Regions from separate parts of the Homo sapiens genome. Here regions 2, 3, 4, 5 and 6 are each linked to region 1. The links are contacts of gene promoters, found by promoter capture Hi-C in blood cells and fetal thymus (Javierre and others, 2016). All regions are on one chromosome and are shown on one strand. Each heading gives the region's core, a stretch centred on a gene start or on the middle of the fragment in contact. The rest is flanking DNA. Distances are from core to core; before and after follow the strand shown.

Region 1 (2,700 bases), core at 196-2,695:
CTGGCATTAAACTATTGGTCCACGATCTTTTATCCCAATCCTTTGAGGCCAGATGATTTGTGGAAATTCTCTTTTGGGTGCGGTGGTAGGGGTGGAATTTTCAAGAGTAGTGCCATGTCTATACCATATATTACATGATACCCACAGTAAGGTGTGGAGCTGCTCTGAACAATTAAACACATTAACATGTCTGCAATAAAAACATGTAAATATTTGGAATAAAGACTACAAATGGCCTCAGGCCAAGTTTTACCACCAAATGAGTTGGAGGAAAAGTTGATTTCCAAAAGTTTTTGGATTTCAGGATTGAGAATAAGGAACAGAGGAGCTGAACTGACTTTATCCAAAGACTTGGGACAATAATGACAATAGCATCTAAGAGGCTGAGTGTCCAGAGCTATCTCTGAAAAGATGCATTTAAGGTGGAACTATGAGAAAAGAACAGCTCTTGTGTTTGTACAGGTTCTGCCTATAGACATGAGTTTGACTCGTAAGGAAATGAGCTCTGGCCAAGAATGCTACGGGAAAATGGTTATAGAGACTACCATGCCATTAGGAGGTGTTACTGTTTTGATGAAAAGAATACTGTCAGAGGCAGAGAATCTAATCTTTTCCAGCCCTAAGTGTGTGTTCATTAATTTATTCAACTAATAATCTTCCAGAGCTTACCATGTGGCAGGCTCCATTCTAGGAAATGGAGAAACAGGTGCACAAGACACAGTCCTCACACCCTGGAGTAAACAGCTACTCTTCATTGAACGCTCACAATGTGCTCACACCTGGGCCTTCACATGCCTCATCTCTCTCCTTTAATTAGGATTCAAAGCCATGATTTGAGGTCCTGCTTTGCCATTTCCTAACTAAGACTTAACAACTTCTCTAAGTCTCAGTTCCCTCATCCGCAACACAAAGAATAATCGCCAGACAGGGCCGTGGGGGAGGAAGAAACGAGATGCTTTGGAAAGAATTTTGAAAATGGCGGGTGGAGGCTGAGCAAGAATCAACTTTCTGTGGGCAGGGCCTTTCCTCGGCATCCTCGTCTTCATTCATACAACCCCCACTTCAGATGACGACTGTGTACCAGATGAGCCAGGTGCTGGGCGTTCGGCCACACAGAGAATCAGACCAGCAATTACCCTAGGAGAACCGGCAGTGGAGGGGAAGGCTGGACCTCAGGAAAGCCTCTAGAAGGAGAGAGGGACGTGATGGCGTCACGTCACGCCACAGGGATTTCACCTCCTGCGGATGGTAATGGCCTCGCCGCCCTCCCGCCCCCACCTGGACTCCGACGGTGCCGGCAAGAAACGGGAGGAGGGAAGGCAACCGATGTTTCCAGACCCGCCTTGAGCCCCACCACCACTCCCAAGCAGAGGCTGTTACCTGAGAGGAAAGTCGGCCGCTGCCCAACGACCAAACTTCCTCTCCCCAGGATATTCCACCTACTCCAGCCAGGCTCAAGGGCCCAGGCCGGTCCCCACTTCCGCTTCCTCACTTTCTGGCCTGGTGCAGTTCCTGTCAGGGCGTCAAGCAAGATGGTTGCAGATACCTGAGCTGGAGGGTACCAAGGGGAATGAAGGTAAGTGTCTTCGTTTCACAGGCTGCCGGGCTGTGACACTGCCCTAATCCTCCTTTCAAAGAATAAATTTTTTTTTTTTTTTGAGATCTGGGAAATAGTTTAATCAGACACTAGCATTTATTCTTAGCTGCTTTCTTAATTAAATAAAAATGAGTATAAATTAATTTACTAAATGTTCACAACGTAAAAACGGACATTAAAAAAAGAAAAAAAATGCCAAGGTAAGCTGATAATGTTTTTAAAAAGTAGACAATAAAATAATGTATGTAACTTAAAATTTGCCATGATAATTTATTCTTAAAATGGAAAATCAGTAAAATACTCAGACTTCTAGCATAATATCTCTTTTTTTTTATTTATTATTATTTAAGTTTTAAGGACATGGATGAAATTGGAAATCATCATTCTCAGTAAACTATCGCAAGAACAAAAAACCAAACACCGCATATTCTCACTCATAGGTGGGAATTGAACAATGAGAACACATGGACACAGGAAGGGGAACATCACACTCTGGGGACTGTTGTGGGGTGGGGGGAGGGGGGAGGGATAGCATTGGGAGATATACCTAATGCTAGATGACGAGTTAGTGGGTGCAGCGCACCAGCATGGCACATGAATACATTTTTAAAAGTGTGTTACTACTGTCATTTCAACTGACTAGAAATACCACCAGCACGTGATTGCCACCTCAAAGGACTGAGAATGTAATAGTAGTCTATGAAGAGCAGTGTGTGTGATGGACAATGATGGGGTAGCTCCAGTGACTGATGGCTTCAGGTGCCACTGACGGGTAATTGTTGATGTATTCAACTGATTTTCCGTGAGCACCCACTTTGTGCCAGACAGTAAGGACTCGGAGATAAAAAGCAGCCCTCTGCTGGATACGTTTACAGGCTAGTGGAGGTGACAGGCACCGTCAGAGAAGATTGTAACAAGATATGTATGGCATAGTAAGAGAGAAGAGATCATCTAATTCTGCCACTGAGTATTTAAGGGCAGGTTTCACAGAAGAGTTTACATCTGAATTGAATCTTAAAGGATGACAGGGAGTTCACTGGATAGACAAAGTAGAGGAGGACGTAAGAGGCAAAGGACACATCATGTGTAAAGGCATGAAAGCT
Region 2 (2,700 bases), core at 165-2,664, 390 kb before region 1:
GGTTTACCAGCAGCAGGGCAGGAATAAGCAAATGCCTGGAGTGGGAACTGCAATTTTCTTTTTTAAGAGACAGGGTTGGCCCGGTGCGGTGGCTCACGCCTGTAATCCCACCACTTTAGGAGGCCAAGGCAGGAGGATCACAAGGTCAGGAGTTCGAGACCAGCCTGGTCAGCATGGTGAAACCCTGTCTCTACCAAAAATACAAAAAATTAGGCGGGCATGGTGGCGCATGCCTTAAGTCCCAGCTACTCAGGAGGCTGAGGCAGGAGAATTGCTTGAACCCGGCACGTGGAGGTTGCAGTGAACCAAGATCGCGCCACTGCACTCCAGCCTGGGTGACAGAGTGACACTCCGTCTCCAAAAAAAAAAGAGACGGGGTCTCGCTCTCGCCCAACCTGGAGTACAGTGGCATGATCATAGCTCTCTGGAACCTTGAATGCCTGGCCTCAAGCAGTCCTCCCTTCTCAGCCTCCTGAGTAGCTGGGACGCCAGGCATGTACCAATGTGCTCAGCTAATTTTTTATTTATTTATTTTTTTTGTAGAGACGGTCTTGCTATGTTGCCCAGGCTGCTTTCAAACTCTTAGCCTCAAGCGATCCTCCCACCCTTGCCTCCCAAAGCTTTGGGATTATAGGTTCAAACAGCTCTGCCTGTCCAGAAACTGCACTTTGTAGTCTGGAAACTTAAGTCTGATGTGGCCAGCATGGTACCCCTGTAAGGCAAATAGCCAGAGTTGAGGCTGGGCCTGGTCTGGAAGGACGTTGACTCCAAGTTGAGATTGTAATGTATATCTTCTTATGTGGGGACCATCACAGCTCTGTAAACAGAGGAATGACATAGCCACATTTGTATCGTAGAGGGAGCATACCAGTGGCAGTGTGAAGAATAAATTGATGAGAGATACTAGAGGCAGTGGATGTAGCCAGATCAGATTGAGGGACCGAGGGGTGGGGGTGGCCACATATAAACACAGTGTGTACAGCAGTGGGACTTGGTGATCAGTTGGCTGAGGCAGGAGGAGGAGAGAGAAAGATGAAGAGTAACTGGGTGTAAGGCCTGCCAGCTGGGTGGAGGGTGCTGCTTTTAACTGGGGGAGGGAAAGTAGGAAGAGAGCCTTATGTAATGACTTTTGGTTCTTCTCAGCCACTTAGGATTGGCATATCTGCCTTTGGCAGTACAGGGCCAGGGGTGGGGTGATGCCCATGGGAGCCTGTCTGCACAGGGAGGGTTGGCTAGCGGATCTAGGAGGGAATTAGGGCGTTCCTTGAAATCTTTGTGTTCCTAATATATTTTGGCTGTGAGTTGGGCTACACGCTGCTATCACTACCCCCTCAAAAAAACCAAGAAACAAAACGCCGTAGAGTTAATACTTCATTCCCACAACATATACTCCCTATGCATCAAACACTGCACACCCTGGGGATGCAGCAGTGAATGAGCCCAAATGTCCCCCAGAAGCATATGGTCTGGGGGTTAATGGAGTGGAGATGGGAACAAGGTGTGGAGCAAGTACCTAGGACCCCTGTAGATTAGTTCTCCGCACCGCGTGATCTCAGGGTTCAAATCTTGGTCACATACTTTACTGACACAGTGACCTTGGGTCAGTTACAGAAACTACTCAGTTTCTTCATCCTTTAAATTTGGGATAATATTACTGATCTCATGGGATTGTTGTTGTGAGGATTGAGGGAATTAATAATAAGTGTAAAATTGCCAGCACATAATACACACTCAATATCTGCTACCTAGTCTCGTACATACTCAAGCAAGATAGGTTTATAAAAAGGCCTATGGCTTTTTCAATTAAAATAAGTTGGAACTTTCACACTTCTGTGCTGTCATCCTAGGAAGCCGCAAGGCCTCCATTATTCATCATCCTTAACTATATTAGGGTGATGAGCATTTCTGTTCCCATTTTTGTATCTAGCGAGACAGGTTAAATAACTTGCCTGAAATATTGGCAGAGCTGAAATTCTCCATCCCTAGTTCTGCCCACCAGGTCTGTGTTCCTTCTTTGTTTTTTATTTTAACCATCTTAACCATTTTAAAGTGTACAGTTCAGTAGTAGTAAGTATATTCACATTGTTGGGTAACAGAGCCCCAGAACCCTTTTCATCTGGCACATCTGAAACTCTGTACCCATTAAGCAATGGGGTTCCTTCATGACAGTCCCGATTGGAGGTGGAGTTCTTACCTGCTAGTAGGCTGTAAGCTTATGCAGCAGAACCTGAGTGGAGAGCGTGTCATGGAGAAGCAGTTTAAACTGGAACAAGTTGAATTAACTTTTCAAGTAAGGTCCGTGTCTGTCTGTTGAGCTTGTGGATGCCGTCTTCTGTTCCAGGTCACCAGGTCTGTGATGTCAGTCCGTCCTTGGATGGTGGGCGGGGGGTGCCTATTGCACTACAGTAGGAAAAGCCTTTTTTTCTTGAGATGGAGTCTTGCTCTGTCACCCAGGCTGGAGTGCAGTGGGTGCAATCTTGGCTCACTGCAACCTCTGCCTCCCGACTTCAAGCGATTCTCCTGCCTCGGCCTCCCGAGTAGCTGGGACTACAGGCGCCTGCCACCACACCTGGCTAATTTTTTGTGTTTTTAGTAGAGACAGAGGTTCACCGTGTTAGCCAGGATGGTCTCGATCTCCTGACCTCGTGATCTGCCCACCTTGGCCTCCCAAAGTGTTGGGATTACAGGCGTGAGCCACCG
Region 3 (2,700 bases), core at 120-2,619, 340 kb before region 1:
CTTCTGCCTCTGGGCAAAGCTTGCCTGCTCCCTCAAATGCCCATCCTAAGCCATCAGGGCTTGAAAGACCACAGGGCAGGGCCCAGGCTTACAGTAATGACCTGGCCAACTACAGCGCCTCCAGCCTGAGACCCACTCCCACCACACAGGCCTCATGGTCTCTCCTTGATGGCGACATTGAGGGTGTTTGCCTGGAAGCCTGACTGCCCGGGTGCCGGGACTTTGTCCAGCTGAGGATAAAAGGGATAGTTGCCTGCTCTATTATTCTATCTCCAAGCAGCAGGAGTGGCAGAAAGGAAGAGTGTGAGGGCACACGTGCGTGAGAGATGTACATACACACACACAGCGGGGAGACGGGAGAGCAAGAGACAGACAGGAAGAGTTAGGGAGACAGAGAGACAGAGGGGCATGGAGAGAGCCAGAGAAAGGGTAAGACAGAGAAACGCCAAGGAGGAAGGGAGCCAGGCAAGGGAAACAGGAAGCAGGAGAGAGACGCCCAAAGAGACAGAGACAGAGGTGGACAGAAGCCAGCAGGGGCAGAGGGTCCCCACCCCCTGCACCTCAAGGTGATTTTTCCTCTTTTCATCGTCCACTCTCCTCTCTGGCTCCGTCGCTCCTAAGCTGGGCTTTCCGGTCCCTCTTCCACCTCTTCCCCAGTGTCATTTTCTTTTCTTTCTTTCTTTCTTTTTTTTTTTTTTTTGAGATAGTCTTGCTCTGTCGCCCAGGCTAGAGTGCAATGGCATGATCTCAGCTTACTGCAACCTAGGTTGCCGCCTCCTGGGTTCAAGAGATTCTCCTGCCTCAGCCTCCCGAGTAGCTGGGATTACAGGCGCCTGCCACCCTGCCTGACTAATTTTTGTATTTTTAGTAGAGGCGGGGTTTCACCAAGCTGGCCAGGCTGGTCTCGAACTCCTGACCTCAGATGATCCACCTGCCTCAGCCTCCCAAAGTGCTGGGATTACAGGGGTGAGCCACTGCGCCCAGACCCCCATGTCTTTTTTAACCTGATGCTCTCCGGGCCTTTGCTCCTGCTGTCCCTTGGCTTGAGATGCCCTTCCTCCAATACTTGGCTAGGAAAACTCAGATCTGCCCACTGCCTGTTGTCCCTTCTAGGCCTTCACTGTCTCTCCCTTTGTGGAGCCTTCTTTGGCCCTCCTGGTCTGACCCCAGAAAATATCGTTTCCTCCTGGGGGCTCCCAGCTCCTTTCTTCCGAGCTTAAATCCAGGTTGTCCAGATGTGGCTTCTCCCCACAGGGCTGGGGTTCATCTGTTTCTGTATACCTGACACGTGGCACTTAGTAGGTGGTCAATAAACATCACTGAGTGATGGCCTGGCGTGTAACTGTTGTCACACCAGCTCTCTTGAACTCAATTTCTTTCTTTTTTCCTTTTTTGACATGGAGTCTCGCTCTATTGCCCAGGCTGGAGTATAGTGGCGCGATCTTGGCTCACTGCAAACTCTGCCTCCTGGGCTCAAGCAATTCTCCTGCCTCAGCCTCCCGAGTAGCTAGGATTACAGGCGCATGCTGCCACGCCCGGCTAATTTCTGTATTGTTAGTAGAGACTGGATTCTCTGAGCCCTGTCCAGGAAGCTCCTCAGGCATCAGCTACCTGTTTTGGTTGAGAGTCAGGGACCTCCGACCTGGCAGGAACTTGAGGTTCCTGGGGTCTGTCCCCAGCTATGCTCTGCCCCCACTCCAGGCTTTTGTCCTGGGCAGATAGATAGGCTTTTGTCCTGGGCAGAGATAGATTCTCTCTCTCTCTCTCTCACACACACACACATGCGCACACACATGCACTCTGGCATAGAATCCTGTTTATGCTACTTATTAGCTGTGTGACTCTGGGCAATTTACTTAATTTCTCCGGATTCTGGTTCTCCCGAGTGTAAGTGGAGCTGCATGATCCCTGTCACCTAGGACTGCTGGGGGTTAAGTGGGCTGATAGAAGAAGTGGACACCTGCAGCCGGGCCCAGGGGCTCCCTGCTTCTCAGCTACATAAGCCAGCTCCACCCCCACACTTCCTGCCCAGATTCCTAGGGATGCAGCAATCTTGGGGGGCTGCCAGTGTTCTCCTGGACCCCTCTGGCTTTGACCTTTTGCTTCTGCTGGCTTAGTGCAGTTGGGGATGGACTGGGTGACATGCCCAGGGCTGTTCTTGTTCATGTCAGCACTGAGGGGGAGCTCGGCTCCTTTCTTGATATCCACACACTGAGTACCCCTGTGGGTCCAGCAGATGTTCCTGGGGACTTGGCAGGGGAGGGACACTGACACTGCAGCCATGCAAACCACTTCAAATCGAAGTCCCCCCGCTTCTGGGGGATCCCCCCAGGTGCGTCCCCCTCTGCGTGTCCCTGGTCTCCTCCATCTTGCAATCTCTTCTCTCCTCTCCCTTCCCTCTCCACTCTTTTCTCTCTGGACCTTCTGATTCTTCTCTCTTTATGTTGCAGAACAATCCAGCCACTACCTTCCAGACTGGGCTCTGGGTCCATCTTGGCCTCTTCAAACCCATCAAGGTGCCCACAGGTGCTGGGGTTCAGCCTGCCCCATCACATATGGGAAGCCCAGCGTCTGGCCCATCCTCCCTAGGGTCTCATTCCAAATCTCCTCCCTGTTTTACCCACAGTCAGCACTTCCAGAATTTTCCATCTCGTAATGTCCTCCAGCCATGGCACAGGCCTGGTACGCAGAGGTGATTAA
Region 4 (2,700 bases), core at 139-2,638, 360 kb before region 1:
TTCTTTTAACAAATACTTTAACATCTTTTATGCATTAGACTCTAGGGATTCAGACACAGTAAGAGCTTGCCACGTCCTGACACATGTCAAAATATCACCATCTTGCCTACACCAGCCCCTCCGAAAGTCTTTATGTCTATTAAGTGACACTACGTCCCCCAAGAAACTAGGCTCCACCTTCACAGCCAATTCACCACTAAAACCCCTCTAAAGGCTGAAATTCTCTGCTGCCCCCTCTTTAACATATTTTCCACCTGCACAATTCTCTTGTTATCTCTGCTGCTATAGCCACTGCCCAGGCCACAGCATGTCCTATTTCAATGGAGTAGGTAATAGCAGCACTCTGGAGACACAATGCCCGGGCAGCCACAATGCCTGTACCACCTGGGCAGGTGCCTTTTTCTGAATCTGTAAAACGGGGGTGATAGTAGTATCGACCTCAAAGGGCTGCTGTAAGGATCAAACGAGCTTACATTTGTACAGCACTTAGAATCAGCACCTGGTACAGAGTGTTAGTGAATGTGTTTAAATGCTCCATCTTTGATCCTCATTCACTAGGTCACCTTTACCAGCCTTTATTTTTTCAAATTCTCAAAGGCAACAACCTCCTTTCTGACTCAGGACCTTTGCACATACTATTCTTCCTAGAATATTCTCCTACTTTTCACCTAGCTCACTCTTATACATCCTTCAGCTCTCGGCTGAAATGTCGCTTCCTCAGAGAAGGCTGACTTGGCCTAAGTCCCCATCAGAGTACCGTAGTCTTTTAATTCATAGGCTTCAATGCACTTAGCAATGACACACTGGGTTTGATATTCTTTGATGCTTCTCTCCCCACTAGGGCCGTAGTCCACGAGGACCAGGACGGTGGCGTGTTCTGTCACCTTCGTATGTCCAGGGCCCCGCTCCGCGCCTGGCACACAGTAGGTCTAGCAATACCGGGCGAACGCTTCAAGCCCTGCCTCAAGCGCCACCTCCTCTGGGGCGCAGGTCCCAGCACCGGAGGCAGCACTTTCAGCCCCTTCCCGAACTTACCCAGTGCCGACTTGGGCACCTTTCCCTTGGCCGAGTTCCGCAGTTTCTGGGCCTGAATTGCCTTCGTCTTCCGGGGCCGTTTCACCGGAGCCCCTCTCGGCTTGGCCTGACCTGGAGGGTCCCGGGGGGCTGTAGGGGAAGAGAGAGGAAGAGACCCAGGTCAGAGGGCGCGCAGCGTTCCCATGCCACTGGGGCTAAGCCCGGCCTGGATTGTTTTCCATCCAGGGCTCCCGCCCGCAGCCACTACCATCCTCCTGCCCGCGCCGGACGTCCCCTGGCCAGCCCTCCTCACCCTCGGACGCCGCCAGCAGCTCCAGGCCCCGCCGCAGCAGGGCGGCGGACATGGCGGCGCTTGGCTCCGCCCACGAGCCTCACACTACTTCCGACCTGGCAGTCCCTGTCGTCTCGGCGGAAACCCGAGCCCGAACAGAGGGATCCGGAGGGGGATGGGCGGAAGTGCCCATCTTTCTTAGGACGCATGCGTTAGGGGTTTACACTTGAGCGGAAGAAGGGGCGGAAACTGGAGGCGGGTCCAAGGCGCAGAAAGACACATGTGTTACTCAATCCCAATCTACCTGGCTCCTGGCGCTCAGTCCCCTCCTTCCCCGGAAGCCGTCCGCAACCTGCTCCGCCGGGTTGGCCAATCCTCTCGGGTCTCGTGGCTCCGTGGCGGGCTAGGATGGGGACAGGGCGGAGTGTTTTTCATATACTTCAACCAGCACTAGGTATCGCACAGGTTGAGTGCAGCATGAGAATCCAGTTGTCTTCCCTTAAGCCAGACATTAAAGACATATCTTTGTTTTGAAAACTACAATTATTTCTCATAAAATACGTTGTTTATGTTACCAAGCAATGGGTTTATTGTCATTTTAAGTGAATTAATGAATATGTAAAATTTTTGTTTTAGTTTCTAGTATGGCAAATATCAGTTGCCTACATACAAAAGTTCTTTGGGATCCTGAATTTTTTAAAATTTATTTTATTTAATTAAATTAATTTTTTTTTTGAGACGGAATCTCGCTCTGTCGCCCAGGCTGGAGTGCAGCGATCTCGGCTCACTGCAACTTCCGCCTCCCGGGTTCAAGCGATTCTTTTGCCTTAGCCTCCCGAGTAACTGAGATTACAGACGCCCGCCACCACGGCCGGCTAATTTTCTTTTTAAAAAATTTTTAGTAGAGACGGGGTTTTGCCATGTTGGCCAGGCTGGTCTTGAACTCCGGACCTCAAGTGATCCGCCCACCTCAGCCTCCCAAAGTGCTGGGATTACAGGAGTGAGGGGATTCTGAAGTTTTAAATGTAAGAAGCTTCTTAGACCAAAACATTTGAGCCCCTCTGGCCTAGAAGTGACACTGCTTACCTGGGGGAGGAGCCCTGGGCTTGTTCGCTGCTCCATCTGCAGCTGGCAGCCCAGCACCTGGCATGGAGAAGACACGCAATAAGTGAACGGTGAATCAGAAGGGACCACTGGGTTCACTCAGCCGGGTTCTGAGGGCCTTCTGTGTACTTGACACCACAGAGTGTGGGACCTGGAGTTCGTCCTCCGGGATAGACCACACCGTTTAAGCTCCATCGGCTAGAGAGTAATAATAACAACCAACACAAACTCAAGCATTTGTGCTGTTCTACGTGCTTTACATTTGTTAACTTGTTTATCCCCCCTACCCT
Region 5 (2,700 bases), core at 93-2,592, 280 kb before region 1:
GATCCCAGGCCAGGCCTTGTTACTCCTGGAGTTCACAAGGGCGCCCTGGCTGGTGGAAACCAAGCCGTTTAGGTGGCCTACCATGAACTATCATTAACTGACTGAGTTGGGCTTTTTTACACCCATGATGGTGTTACATCCTGACAATCCCCAGAAATTAGTATTGTTAACACCATTTTGCAGATGAGAAAATGGAGTGTCAGAGAGATTGGTAGCCTGCCTCAGGACACACTCAGCCTTTATGGATCAGATCTGGGATTGCTCAGGTCTGGCTGCCCCCAGGGCTCGTGCTCACCCATGACATGAAGGGGTTGTACATTTCCAGAGGCTGAAATATAAGCCGTTGATTTGCCTCACTAGCCCTCAGAAAGCAGTGAGGTGAGTCCCCTGAGAGGAACATTTCCCCCAGGCTCTGGTTAGAGCCAAAAGCATCTCTGCACCACACAGAGCCCACTCTCTGGTTCCCAGCAGCCATTCTCACCTGCCGTGCTGCCAAGACTACTCTGGAGTAATGGAGCTAAGTTTCACGGGAGGCAGACATCATGAGGCATACACTAAAATTATTCATTGTTTATCTGAAGCTCAGATTTAACTGGGAAGCTTCTATTTATCTGGCAACTCTACCCAGAAATAAACCACTGGAGTAAAGTAACCCAAATGGAGGCTTGGAGAGAGAAGGTCCAGGTCTTCTGCCACTGAGGTTCCCAGAGCTGCCCTGGTTCCCACCTGCCTGGGTTCTGTCTTTGCAGCCCATCCCTCAGCTTTGTGGCCAACCCAGCATTCTTCCCCCAAATCCCCCCTGTACTCTGAGCTTGGCCTGAGTTGGTTTCAGAGCGTCAGTCAACTGGGCTTAATAACCTCTGTTCTTTGGCCTCATAGGTTTGTGTGAGGAACTGCGAGTGTTGCTGTTGTTTGAATGTGTCTCCCATAGTTCATGTGTTGGCAACCTAATGCCAAGTGCAACAGAGTTGAGAGGTGGGACCTTTAAGAAGTGACCAGGTCATGAGGACTCAGCCCTCGTGGATGGATTAATGCCATTATTGTGGGAGTGGGATGGTTATCGTGGGAGTGGGTTCCTGATGAGAGGGATGAGTTTGGCCCCTTCCCTGTCTCACACACACTTTCTTGCCCTTCTGCCACGTGATGACACAGCAAGAAAGTCCTCGCCAGATGCAGCTCCTTGATGTTGGACTTCCCAGCCTCCAGAATCGTAAACCAAATTAATTTCTTTTTTAAAAATAAATCATCCAGTCTTTCTGCTTCTGTTATAGCAGCAGAAAATGGACTAAGACAGGTATCTTAGTCTGTTTGGGGTGCTCTAACAAAATACCATAAACCGGGTGCCTCATAAACAACAGAAATCTAGTTCTCACAGTTCTGGAGGTTGGGAAGTCCAAGATCAAGGTGCTGGCAGATTCAATGTCTGGTGGGGGCCACTTCCTCATAGATGAGTCTTCTCATTGAGTCCTCACTTGAGTCCTCACGTGAAGGGGCAGATGAGTTTCCCTTTGCCTGTTTTAAAAAGGTGCTAATCTCATTCTTGAGGGCCCTGCCTTCATGATCTAATCACCTCCCCAAAGGCCCTAATACCATCACCTTGGGGGATAGAATTTCAATGTATGAATTTTAAGTGGATATAAATATTCAGACCATAGCAATGGGTGAAATGACCCATAAATCATGAGGTGCTGGCCACAGTCAAGGGTTAATGTCATTACTCCCAAATCCTCTCTATTATTTCCTTCCTCCTTCTCTCCCTCCTTCCCTCCATCCCTCCACAGAACACCTACTGTGTGCTAGGTCCCCGGATATTGGCAATGGCTGGTGGTCTAGTTACCAACCAACACAAGCCTGAGTCATCACAGAGCTGCCTCCTGACAGATGATCTGTGATTTCCAGCATCTCAGCTTCCCTTCCATTAGCTACATCTTAAATCACATTTTAAGAAAGCCCCCGTGGGCCCCTTGTGAAGATTGAGGAAACACCCTATTTTTATCAGCCACACACAGAAATCATCTCCTGGGCGGGGTATTTCCTGGAAAGATGTTAAATCTCAGTCATTTCTTGTGGCTTCTTGTCAGCTCCAAGCTTTTTTTTTCTTTCTTCTTTTTTTCTGATCTTGTCCCTCAAATTATTTGTTTGACAAACTCACACAGGGAATCCACCTCTAAGTCAGAACCTGGGCTGGGCACTGGGGACCCAGCAGGGGCTCTGAGCCAACCCCTGCTCTGAGGAACAGGGACAGGTGCCCAGAGGTGCCCTCATAGAGGATCAGTGGGACACCAGGCAGAAGAGCTCATCTCTGCCTGGGGGTGGGGTCTGGAGAGGGCCTCATGTGATTCGTGGGCGCGTGTGAGCTGAGGTAACAGTTGAGGCTGCGATACAATAATAGCTCACATTTCTTGGCTGTTCCTTGTGTGAGGCCCTGTTCTGAGTACTGGATCTGTATATGAACATGTTTCAGGTCAGTGACTTGCCCAAAGTCACATGGGACACAAGCAGCGAGCTGGGATTGGAACCCAGCTCTGTACTCTGACCATCGGGTAGCACTGCCTTGGAGGATGCTGGCCCTGGTCCTAGTGCTGTGGTGGGCGCTGTGCCTTCCACCTACCTGGTCAGCAGAGGGTAACGCTCCCGAGCCGGAGGCGCTGGCCTGCTCCGGCCTTGCCGGTGACTGATGCAGTGGGAGAGGGGGCAGGT
Region 6 (2,700 bases), core at 190-2,689, 300 kb before region 1:
ATCTGCCCGCCTTGGCCCCCCAAAGTGCTGGGATCACAGGCATAAGCCACCGCGCTTGGCCATGCATGCTGTTTGATTTGGAGGCTCCTTGGCAAACAGACACTCAGGGGCACTGAAGAAGTGTTCGCGATTGTCACCATTATTACCACCGGCAGGCTGGCGCCTGGCACACAACAGGCACACAATATAAGCACATTCATTCCCCCTGCTCAGCTCTGAGACCCCAGTTCTGAAGACTTTGAGAGGTGTGGTGCGGGGACGTGGGTAGGAAGTGGGGCTGAGGGCCCAGGCTGTGCTGAGGCGCTGGGGGGCTCTGCAGCAGCACCCAAAGACCCTGAGTGATTTTCTCCCCGAGGCCTGTGTGCTTGGGACGGCTTTGCCTGCCAAGGAAACTCGATTGATTGCATCACCATTGATCTGTTTCTCCATCTGTGTTCCTCAAAGGCGCTCAGGGCTGCCCGTCAGGGATCTAACCAGCTTAAAGTGATGGTACTGTGGCTGTGCCGAGTGTGTGGGGAAACGCGGAGGGTTTCCGTGTGAGTTTGAAAAATCGACTGTGGCTTGGGGACCCCCGTGGGTGGTGAGTCTGTTGTCTAAGTGTCACTTCAGCTCTGGGCTTGCTGTGGAGCTGGGACAGATTTCTGCCCCTGTTTTCCATCAGTGCAATGAGGGATTGGAGCCGTTGCTCTCTAACGACGCTGGCAGGGCTGCTCTGTGGCAAAGGTCACCCCGACTGCAGTGAGGGCCTGAGGGGTGAAGTAGGCGAGGCAGCTGGGCCTTGGATGCCCGTCGCAGGGCTTCAAGCCTCGCTGTGAGAGGCAGTTGGGAGCCATTGAAGACGTCCTGCCGTCGTGGCACTAGCACTCCAGCCCTGCCCCCTCTGTCACCCAGAAATCCTGTGCTCCCCCTTGGGTCTCCAGCTTCCCTCAGGTTGTCCCCGAACCTCACGGCTTCGCTTGCCTGTGTTCTCAGAGAGTTCCTCAACACTTGTGACTCATGGTGGAAGCATGAGGCGTCAGGCCAGGCTGCAGAGTGGCTCAAGCCGGAGACCTTGACTCCCCCCGCCACCCTCCTACCCCACACTGCACTGTCTGGTTTAACTTCAAGGAGGGCTGGTGCTTTTGATCCCTGAGCCAGTGGGGAGTGTGTCAGGAACCGCGGGCAGTGATGCCAGTTCTGGCCTGACTTCTAAGCCTCCTGGGCTCTTGGAAGGGGCCCAAGCTTTGCCATCTGGGATTTCCCCGGGCACCTCTGGGCAAGGGCTGAGACCATCCATTGCTGAATTTCTGAAGCTGAGCAGCCCAGGGATGAAAGCCACTCCATCTGCCTCCTGCGGGGACCCAGTGCAGTGGGCGAGTTAGATGGGCCACAGAGGCAGTGCTGTGCAGCGGCCACCAGCACTGCTGTGAATCAGACAATCTGGGCTGCTCGGGGACTGGGTGACCTTGTGTGAGTGGTGTCAGCTCTCCAGGCTTGTTCCTTTTCCATCCCCAGGGGATTGTGAGAGCTGAGGTCATGTCCCTAGGGTGTCTGGTACACAGTCGTCAGAGGTACTGCCAAATTCATCACTGTGGTACGTGCTAGCCAGGGCAGGTGGGAGTGCTTCTGGAGAGGAGGCTGAGCCACCACCTTGTGAGGGGCAAGAGGCACATCCGGGGAAGCTTCAAGAAGAGGTGACCTGCGAACTGGGCTCTGAAACAGTCTGCCTGCTGGAGAGGTGGAGGAAAGGGAAAGTGTAGGCAGAAGGCGTGTTTGGAGAAAGCGAGTGCTGAGGCCAGTGAGTGATAAGACTGCAAGGATTCACTGAGGCGAGAGTCTACCTTGCGTACCAGGCTTGGGAGGGTGATGGGGAGCCATGGGAGGTTCTTGAGCAGGAGAGAGGCATCTGGAGAGTGTGTTTCAGGCAGATTAGCCTGGCAGTGGCAAAACAGCTTGGAGGCAGGAAAAGCCTCCAGCCTGAGGTTTTGTGTCTCAGCTCTGCTCTTTTCCAGCTGGTGACCTTGGGCCAATCTGTTTCCCTTTTGTGTCTTGGTTTCCTTATTTGTAAATGGGGCTTATAAAAGAGCTGTGAGGATTAAATGAGATAACATTTGGAAAATGTTCAAGTTGTGTTGGGCACACAGCAAGTGCCTGGTTATCGTGTGGGGCAGATTGGAGGGGCAGAGACCAGAGCTGGGGGATACCGAGGATGCTGGGTCAGGGTCCTGGGGAGACACACTGAAGATGGGCTGAGAGGCCTCAGGGGAGGGAGGAGAGCCATGGGCAGAGACAGGCCGTACTTCACAGAGGAGAGCGCTGGCCTTGGAGTCCAGCAGGCCTGGTGTGAATCTCTGTGCCAGTAATTCCTAGCTGTGAAACCCAGGAGAGGCCCCTGATTTCCCCATGTCTCAGCCTTCCTTATCTGTAAAATGGGCCTGCTGACCTCCACTGCTCAGGGCCTTGTTGAGGAGGCAGCAGGGGCACCGGGCTCCTGGGAGACGCCACTAAGTGCACTTTGAGCCTGAAACTGGCAGGAGGGGCAGAGGGAGCAGAGGATGGGGCTGGAAGGAGAGAGCGCACGACAGGAAGAGGGGAAAGGCGAGGGGGATGGGGGATGTTCTTTGGTAATTAGAATGTTCGAACTTCAAAAAAGTTAATTAATGATGAAGCTGCTGCTGGAGCCAGGCTCAGGCTCGAAGGGGGCCCTGGCAGCGACTGAAA

Evidence for each region. The method cuts DNA at HindIII sites, captures the fragments that hold promoters and counts their contacts. A CHiCAGO score of 5 or more calls a contact.
Region 2: a fragment that was not itself captured here is called in contact with the fragment with the promoter of ENTHD1 in region 1 in 1 of 17 cell types (activated CD4 T cells); the score reaches 5.4 in activated CD4 T cells.
Region 3: a contact is called between a fragment that was not itself captured here and the fragment with the promoter of ENTHD1 in region 1, in 8 of 17 cell types (naive CD4 T cells, activated CD4 T cells, erythroblasts and 5 more). The highest score is 7.6, in naive CD4 T cells.
Region 4: the fragment with the promoter of RPS19BP1 here is called in contact with the fragment with the promoter of ENTHD1 in region 1 in 1 of 17 cell types (naive CD4 T cells); the score reaches 5.2 in naive CD4 T cells.
Region 5: a fragment that was not itself captured here is called in contact with the fragment with the promoter of ENTHD1 in region 1 in 7 of 17 cell types (activated CD4 T cells, naive CD4 T cells, non-activated CD4 T cells and 4 more); the score reaches 16.3 in activated CD4 T cells.
Region 6: a fragment that was not itself captured here is called in contact with the fragment with the promoter of ENTHD1 in region 1 in 1 of 17 cell types (megakaryocytes); the score reaches 5.2 in megakaryocytes.

What each region holds. Positions count from the first base shown.
Region 1 is chr22:39,892,315-39,895,014 of GRCh38, forward strand. ENTHD1 (ENTH domain containing 1) reads right to left here and starts at 1,446. Exons shown (of 7, transcript NM_152512.4): 1 at 1,381-1,446. It also overlaps a transcript of GRAP2 not described here. The HindIII fragment of the contact is 18,515 bases long and covers 1-2,700 here.
Region 2 is chr22:39,504,836-39,507,535 of GRCh38, forward strand. The region is part of intron 2 of MIEF1 (mitochondrial elongation factor 1); the gene reads left to right. Among named protein-coding and RNA genes, the nearest start is that of MIURF, 2.0 kb to the left of the region's middle. The HindIII fragment of the contact is 1,592 bases long and covers 619-2,210 here.
Region 3 is chr22:39,550,502-39,553,201 of GRCh38, forward strand. No RefSeq gene overlaps it. Among named protein-coding and RNA genes, the nearest start is that of CACNA1I, 19 kb to the right of the region's middle. The HindIII fragment of the contact is 2,704 bases long and covers 18-2,700 here.
Region 4 is chr22:39,531,360-39,534,059 of GRCh38, forward strand. RPS19BP1 (ribosomal protein S19 binding protein 1) reads right to left here and starts at 1,389. Exons shown (of 4, transcript NM_194326.4): 1 at 1,328-1,389; 2 at 1,036-1,164. The coding sequence starts at 1,379. RefSeq lists enhancers at 603-1,118, 1,119-1,634, 1,424-1,483, 1,534-1,583 and silencers at 844-973, 1,154-1,313. The HindIII fragment of the contact is 8,920 bases long and covers 1-2,337 here.
Region 5 is chr22:39,611,089-39,613,788 of GRCh38, forward strand. The region is part of intron 3 of CACNA1I (calcium voltage-gated channel subunit alpha1 I); the gene reads left to right. Among named protein-coding and RNA genes, the nearest start is that of CACNA1I, 42 kb to the left of the region's middle. The HindIII fragment of the contact is 1,488 bases long and covers 599-2,086 here.
Region 6 is chr22:39,591,799-39,594,498 of GRCh38, forward strand. The region is part of intron 1 of CACNA1I (calcium voltage-gated channel subunit alpha1 I); the gene reads left to right. Among named protein-coding and RNA genes, the nearest start is that of CACNA1I, 22 kb to the left of the region's middle. RefSeq lists an enhancer at 10-919. The HindIII fragment of the contact is 440 bases long and covers 1,220-1,659 here.